Regions from separate parts of the Homo sapiens genome. Here region 1 is linked to region 2. Evidence: promoter capture Hi-C in 16 types of primary human blood cells and fetal thymus (Javierre and others, 2016). All regions are on one chromosome and are shown on one strand. Each heading gives the region's core, a stretch centred on a gene start or on the middle of the fragment in contact. The rest is flanking DNA. Distances are from core to core; before and after follow the strand shown.

Region 1 (4,100 bases), core at 1,059-3,558, 260 kb before region 2:
ATGTGGAGATATAAAATAATCAAGGGAGAGTTGGGACTGGAGACAGAAATTTCAGAACCGTTCACAATCAATACCCAATATTTGTAATGATAGAAGTAAAGATTGATGTTGAAGAGGCCAGAAAGAAGAGATCTGAGAATCAAAGCTCCAGTAACTGCCTGCCTGAGGGGATAGGAAAAGGAAGAAAGGAGAAGTGGGAGGGAGGAAGAAATTGAGGATGGCAAGGTTTCCCACAGGCCTTAGGAAGAGAAGGAGTCCAGCGTGGGAAGGAGAGATGCTGCCAACCATGGACAACATGGAGCCCAAGGACATAGTGAGGGCTATTGCTTTGAGGAATAAAAAAGCCTGGCCAACTTTCAAGTAAAGATTTCAGAGAGTGGCAGCCAGATTTTAAACTATAAAGGAATGAGTGAGGATGAGGAAATGAAGGCTGTGGGAGCTGCTAAGAGTGATTAGACAGGAAGGGCACCTCCCAGAGTCCTCTAGGATGGAGCACCTGTGTGTGTTTGGTAGAGAACTGGGATTTGAAGCTGGGTTTCTAGAACTTCCTTCTCAAGTCCATTCTACTCCTAATCCCCCTGAGGTGGGGGTGTCATTGACAGCAGTGGTTAGGACAGAGTCCTGGTGCCTGCTGATGGGCAAGGACACAGGGCCCAGTTCTGGTAATCTTCCTTACTCTGAGCCCAATCTGCAAACAGCTTCCAGGCCTTTCAAAAGTGACCCAAAGGCACAACTCTGTAAATAAATTGACTGCTGATAAGACATCAAGAATTAATGAAACTCCCAGAAAACAGCTGGGCACAGTGGCTCACACCTGTAATCCTAGCACTTTGGGAGCCCAAAGTGGGAGGATGGATCCAGGGCAGGAGTTTGAGACCAGCCTGGCCAACGGAGGGAGACCCTACCTCACAAAAAATAAATTTTAAAAATTAGCCAAGTACAGTGGTATGTGCCTACAGTTTTAGGTACTTGGGAGGTTGAGGCAGGAACATTGCTTGAGCCTAGGAGTTAAGGTTATAGTGAGCTACGATCATGCCACTTTACTCCAGCCTGGGCCACAGACTGAGACCTTGTCTCAGAAACAAACAAAAATTCCCAGAAAACATTTTGAACATTTCTCAATGTATTTCTCTAAATGAAAACTCACTTAATATGGATAAATGTTTTCACCAAACCTGTTTCTTTTGACCTTTTCATTTGAGGTCTAACTCATTTTTGTTTGCTTTCTCTCTAAAAGCTGTTAGACCTTTTTCTGAGAACGTTTAGATTTATTGTTAAAATATTTTTCATTAGTAAAGCAAAAAACTAAAATATATTCAGTGAGAGATCTAAAAAAAACTTGTTGACATTACATTAAATGTTATACATTCTTTTTTTTTAGCCATTCCCAAATAACTACAGTTTTCTAATTAGTTTTTGCAGTAAGACATACAAGACTATTTGACAAATGACTTTGAGTCTTTGGGGCATAAAAATTGGCAAAAACGATGAAATTTTAGAATCATGCCCAATTTGTATAGAATATAATCTCCTAGTATTGCAAAATATTTCAGCAGTGTCATCATTAAAGTCCTAGCAGAGCAACATTTTTAAGCTATGCCAAACAGACTTAGGCTAAATCAATGTTGCTCTTAAAAAAAAAAAAACAACTGTGTAATTTAAATCCTGCCCTTGAGGAGAGACTTGCACAGTTTAGAAAACGTAGAAAGACAGAGAGAGATTACAAAGAATGTAACTACTAATCTCCTGGAGAAAAATTCTTGTCACACACTCTAAGCTTTGCTTTTTGTTCCCCCGCTTAAGCAAAACTTTGCCCCACATCCTCTTTCCTGGTTTTCTTCTCAGCATCTCACCCAGCAGGAAATACAGACGAAAAAAAAACTGCCTTCCGAGTTGCCTCCTTTTCCCTCTCGGTTGTGGTCCTAAGGAAATAATATCAGACCACAGGGATATCTTTTCCAGCCAAGAGATATTTCATTTTTATTCAAATAGTTTAAGCTCCATAAAGCATATGAAGTGATATTTTCAAACTTCAAAGGCAGATGTGTCTTTTCTCGGCATCATTTAATATTCAACAACTTGCTCCTAAATGGTTTTGCTATCTAAATATACTCTTTATTGTGGAATTTCTATTCATCTGGGTGGGATTTTAAAAATCTTTCTGCCACTATATAATCTTAAACTCGTTTTTTAAAAGCATAGAATTATTACTTTTTTGTTGCTGAAAAGATAGGAAATAAATCAAGACACATTATATTCAAGAATCATGTATTTGTCCCAATGCCCAGGAGTGAGATGCTTTTAAGAAACAGCATACTTAATGAAAGCGCATTCCAGAAGTAATGTAGGAAGTGGTGTTTGGAGCATGGTTACATGGCTGCTTATGTCTCTTCATTGAGTTCATGCCCAAAATTTGAAACTCTGTCCCTACGTGATTCCTGCCTCTAACTGTGCCTCTTCCACCATCTTTGACCAGGCAAATAATACTCTCCATTTGTTACCTGGTATGTGCCACTGTGGCTATATTTACAAGGCATTACAATTATTCTAAGATTCTATTTAATTCATCCTGTTGTCCCGGGACAAGCATAGTATCTAGACTCTGGTGAGCACTTAGCAAATTCTTACGGGAAAATAAAGAAAATAAGGAGCTAGAAACATCACTCTTTTCTAATTCTGGGTTTGGTGGCATATCTGTCTAAGAGCTAAAACAAAAAAAAGCAATAGTGTGACAGTTGTGGGGACAACAACCCTCAATATTCTGCAATAGCTACAACACACAACACAGGATGCGGTAGGGTGGGCCTACTCAAATCCAGATTCCCTGATGATAAGCTTTATAGTCAACACCACAACATGGTACCACTTCTTGTGGAGAATTTAAGACATAGATAGAGTCATCTAATGGCAGGACAAAGTGCACGTATTCAGACTTCAGAAGCATGGAAAGGCCTGGGCTGTGAAGGTGAGGAGTTGAATTCTGCACAGGACTCTCCAACCAAAAGTGATATCATCTCACACACTGCATTCACTCCACTGGATGTGACATACCAAATCAGATAGATCACATCAAAGAAGGTGCTTCTCTCTTTAAAATTCTTGATGAGATTCTTTCTTATAAGGTTTATTTTAGCAATTTCACATTTGAAATCAAGTGTGTCATTTGCTATCCTTACTTAACTCTAAGCAGCTCATTTTTCCTCTAAAGCCTCTTTCCTTGAGTTCTCTCGAACTAGAAACAGCTTTCTTCTCTGGTGTTTTGGTACTTAAAGGGTTTTAGCCTCATTCATCTATTATTTTTAATTCACTTCCTTTTTTCTGATGGAGTCATAAGGTTAAATCCATCTTAATTAGCATATACTGAGCAGCTACCTGTTCCAGAATCATAATGCACCTGCATCTTCTCAGAGCTCCAGCAGCATTCCCATGGTACATTATTTCTCCTGCTTTTTCCCTTTCCCCCATCCTCCCAACTCTTGTTCCTCCTTCAGGCCTCAGGACAGATATTATTGCTTCTGAAAAGCTTCTCCCTATGACTCCACTTCACCACCTACCCCAAGACTAGACTGGGCTCCCATAATATGTATTTCCTCAAGTCGCTGTATTCAATTCTATCAGAGAACCTGTAACACCATACTGAATTAGGGTGAACCCTGTGAAAATCTGTTTTCTAGGTCAAAACTTTAGCAAATTTAGGAAGTGATTATGCCTTATTTACTATCTTATGCTCAGACCTAACTCAGTAGCTGACACGGATGCCACTTCAATTAAGAAGATGGCAAATCGAGGAATGTGAGCTTTCTAATGATAACTTTGGGGAAAGTTGCAGCTGATTAAACTGTCCAGAGTTCAGAATAAATGCCTGGATGCTAGTCTTAAAGCAAGTCTCCAGTAATGGGCCACAAGTCTCTGCCATTGTTCCATCTGTCATCTTTATTGAGGTCTTGGATGAAGACATGGGAACCAGAAGATCACATTTTCACGTGATATAAAGCTGGAAAATACTGTGACTATATTTGATGTTGGAGTTAAAATTAACAAAAAATATCTTCACCAACAGGATGAAAACAGACAAGATAAAATTTAAAGGAATAGATAGA
Region 2 (4,140 bases), core at 823-3,322:
GCTTTGGATTTTTAATATTATAATATTTCAGAACAGAACAAAGACTGCTTCTGACCTCCCAATTTGCCCTCATACACTTGACCAGCAAAACCTTAGCGTAGCTGCATTCATCAATGGCTCTATTCAGGCAATTATGGGTCAGACAAAAGATTCAATTAATACTGATCCCGCAAGTCTCCTTAGTATATTCACAACATGCTTTGGATTCAGAGTTCTATGGCACCTTCATATGACCTTCTCCGGATCCCAATATTGACAATTCCTAGTTCAGAAACGACAAACATAATATTAGAACAAGAGAAGAAGGGAAGCTGGTGAGAAAGAAAGAACAGACTAGACTGGGTGCAGAAATTATATCATCCATTTGCTGTCTGTCCCCGAGTGCATCCTGGGGCCTGGCCCATGGCGGGCTGGTTGGAAATGCATACTGAACGAGTCAATCTCCTCAAGAAGGTCACCACCCAGGTAAGAAGTGGAGCCTGCACATTACACCAAGTTCAGCTAGAGAATCAAAGCCACCTCTTCGGCTCCAGATATGCAGGGAAGACAAAGCACGAGGGCATATGCCTTCAGCTAAGAGATAGGTGCGTGCTTCCTGTTTACCTGGGCAGGTATTTGCAAATAGTCTAAGAAGGGGGGCAACTAGGAGTGACTTACACAGTTCCAAGTGAATGGTTACGCAAATCGCTTGAGTAAATACAGGGAAAGAAACAGGAAAGGCTTCTGAACTGTTTGTACTCATCTGCTCCAGTATTTTCAGAGGGTAGGGTGAAAGACAAAAAACCCGAACGAAGGCTCCGGGCCAACCACAAAGCTACTCTCCGGCAGGAACGTAAGGAACACCTACCGCCCCTCCCCCCACTTCACGCCTTGGCACCAAACCAGGGCCCCTGGGTCATTTTGGCAGGTGGAGGTAGCTCTTTGCTGTCCTCTGCCCCTGCTGCGGGCCACCCGAGTGAAGCTTTCGGCTCGGTCTCCCCAGACAAAACCGGGGGGAGACATCAAGAATGCAAAAGGTGCTCCTTTCTCCAAATGAACGAGAAGGGACAGAGCGGGGTTGGGGGTGCAGGACAAGCCCTGCAATGCGAAAGGCGCCCAGCCAGGCTCGCCGCGGCCCCTGCCGGCAAGACTGGCTCGCTTGCTAGCCAAGGTGCCTCAGGAGGTCGGGCAGCCACCCAGAAAGGCGCGAAAAAAAAAAGAGGAGTTCCTGACCCCGGGGTGACCCTTCCCCACCACTGCCACTGATCCAAACGCAGAGTCCGCAAGTGACTCCACACCTGCGCTGCAAGCCTCACGCCGTCCCCACCCAGGGCGCAGCGCTGCACGAGAGCAAGGGCCCTGGGTTCGCTCTTCCCTGCAACTGTCGCGGGGCGCCTAGCACAGCTGCAGGGCAAAGGGGAGGGGAGGAATGACAAAGAAGGCGGAGCAGACGGCCCGGGAAGCATTTACAAGCGCCAGGAAAGCGCCTCCTCTCGAGGAAGGGAAGGAACGGCTTCCCGGCCAAGGAAACGCCCCGGGGATGCCCCTACGCGAGGTGCCGCCTTTCTTCGGCTCATCGATTCTCCCGCCTCCAGGTGGTCCTCCCCCTGACCATAGCCCACCCCACTCCCCGAAAGCTGATCCTAAATACCTTCCCCGAGGCTTTCAAATCAACCCAGCCACCGCTTCAACAGCCCGCAGTTCACGCAACAGGCGGAGCCTTAGGGCTCCAGCGACGGCGGGCTCTGGGGACCAGAGGATGCGGGCGCCGCGGGCCAGACGCCCAGAAGGACGGAAAGTGCTCTGCGGCCGTAGACCCTCGGGGTCGTGCACCCGCGACCTGGACCACAGGAGACTGGGGCAGCAAAAGGTGGGGGAAGGCGCGGTAAAGTTGCAGGGTCGCCCGGAGAAGTCTCCGGAGCGCGCAGGGAGGTGGGGACGCCAGCCAGGTACCTGCAGGAGTCCGGACGCATCCAGCTAGCTCCGCTCTGCGACGCCGCCTGCCCGCGCTGCAGGGATCAGGCCTCGCGGCGCGGCCCCGCGCCTGCCGCCGCGGCGGCGAGGAGAGCGGGGTGGCCCGCGTCGGCCGGTCTGTCCGTCGGTCCCGCCCCGCTAGAGCGAGGCTCCCGGGAGCTGCGGGCGGGGCGGGGCCGGACGGGACGGGGCGGGGCCCGCCGCTCGGCCGCCGCCCCATTGGTCGCAGCTCCGCCAGCCCCTCGCTTCGGGCCCGCAGCCGGGCGCCCCGGGCCGAGGGCGCGGGCGGCTGAGGACTGCGGGGCTCCGACCGCCAGACAGGCGGACAGACCCATAGACCTAGATGCTGCCCTGCCGGCCGCGCGCCCCCGCCCAGGCCCAAGTGCAGAGTCACCCCGGAGCGGCAGGCGCTGTCCGGGTGGGACCAGGAGCGCGCCCCGCGCCTCCCACCTGCGCGCCCTCCTGGGCCGGAAGCGCCGTGGCCCTGCGGGAAAAAGATGACCTCCCCCGCGGCCCCGGCGGCTGGGGCAACCGCCTTTCTAAAGTCGCGGCCCAAGCGACACTTTGCTAATTTGCCTGGATTTCCTCAGGAAATCGCGAGGCCCAAACTTGTTTTAAAACAAAGTGCGAAGGAGAGTACATATAGCTCCAGTTCCTGCCAATGTTTGCCATCGGTCCCGCTGCCTGAAGACTCAGGCACAGTGCAGAACAAGATGCTTTGTCTTATTCCTCCACTCACCGAGTCAGAAGAGGTGCTTGGACATTTGCACCAAGCAGATGCGCCTCATATGTAGAAGAGGAACCAGTCGGGTCCCCTTTCGGAAGGACGAATGGAAGAGGAAGTCAGGGGACGATGCCTTCAGCCGACGTTGAGGAACAAACCAGGACCTCGGCGAGGACAGCGTGTGGTCCAGAAGGCATCGCTGGCCTCGCTGCACTGAGCGAGAGCGCTCAGTTAACAGCCAGGAGGAGAAATGGGACGCTTCGGGACCCACCCCCGCGCTCCCCCTCCCGCCCCCAAACTGCAGATTTTTAAGTTGTGCAGACGTGGAACAATTCCTCGGAGCCAGCTGCTCCAAGCTAAGGCGCCCAGTGTTCCCTGGGTTCCTACCCGCAGCATACGCCCTGCCAGCTGCCCCCAAGCCAGCACCCGCTGACCACTCACCTCAGGCAAGCACCTAGGAAGACGATGCAGATTCAAGCTCCAGACCTTGAGCCAAGCGCTGGGGAGGGAATGGGGGCAAAGAGATGGTGGAAAACACTTTCCTGAACTTACTGAATACCCTATGTTATGTGTGGGTTTTCTAATTGTTCTTTGCTTAATGAAAAACCCACGTTGGAAATCAGAAAAAGGCAGTAATCCTCACCGTATCTTGTGGGCTTCAAAGAGGAGGTTTTCCCCTTAAAGGGAGTTTTGGTCCAGAGGAGAGGCTAACAGCAGGCAGGAAGGGCAGAGGAAAAGATAAAGCCTAGGGTGGTCTTCCCCCTGAGGCCTGGAGCCCACCAAGCTCCAACAGTTTCATTTGGCTTCTGGGAAGCAAAGTACAGATGCATGTGTCTGCAGAGCACTGTTCTGAGCCATTTGTCCCTAATTCCATGGTTCTTTGGTTCCTCCAATCTTGTCTCCTCTCCTGTGGAAGAGGATCCAAAGCATTGGTCCACACTGCTATTTACAAGTGGCTGAAGAAGGTAACTTTCTTACATAGTTCATCTTTAGCATAAGCTCTAAGATTGTTCTAAAAATATATTTACATTTTATCAACACCTTAGAAGAATGCTTCCAGATCTCTCCCAGCAGTTACCTATTTAATCATTTTAAAATCACTAAGTTTATCCAAAAAGTCCAGCATGGTTTACTTGAGAAGGAAATATGTTCAGAATCTCTAAGCACTGCAGAAGGCACCTGCAGTGCAGAAGAGTTGGCAGTGAGGTCTTTCTCCTGGGGTCTGGGCGGAACATGTGAGCAGTCGGGAAGGCACACACAGTGGGAGCCAGTAAGGGCCCCTGTGCATCTGCAGGAGCTGAGGACAGAAGGGGTGGGCCTCCACGGTGGGCATGTAGGAGTGGGCACAGAGAAGGGCCACAGATCTGAGACAGAGACAGACAGGACTTCTTACCCTGCTGAGCCCTGCAGGGAGCCACTTCGTCTTTCAGCCCTGATTTTGTCATCTGTAAGGAAATTTCCTC

What was found. The method cuts DNA at HindIII sites, captures the fragments that hold promoters and counts their contacts. A CHiCAGO score of 5 or more calls a contact.
Region 1: a fragment that was not itself captured here is called in contact with the fragment with the promoter of KCNS3 in region 2 in 1 of 17 cell types (megakaryocytes); the score reaches 5.8 in megakaryocytes.

Annotation. Positions count from the first base shown.
Region 1 is chr2:18,134,785-18,138,884 of GRCh38, reverse strand. No RefSeq gene overlaps it. Among named protein-coding and RNA genes, the nearest start is that of KCNS3, 260 kb to the right of the region's middle. The HindIII fragment of the contact is 1,058 bases long and covers 1,780-2,837 here.
Region 2 is chr2:17,876,599-17,880,738 of GRCh38, reverse strand. It overlaps KCNS3 (potassium voltage-gated channel modifier subfamily S member 3), which reads right to left and starts at 2,072. Exons shown (of 3, transcript NM_002252.5): 1 at 1,933-2,072. RefSeq lists silencers at 1,952-2,001, 2,092-2,291, 2,302-2,461. The HindIII fragment of the contact is 4,070 bases long and covers 964-4,140 here.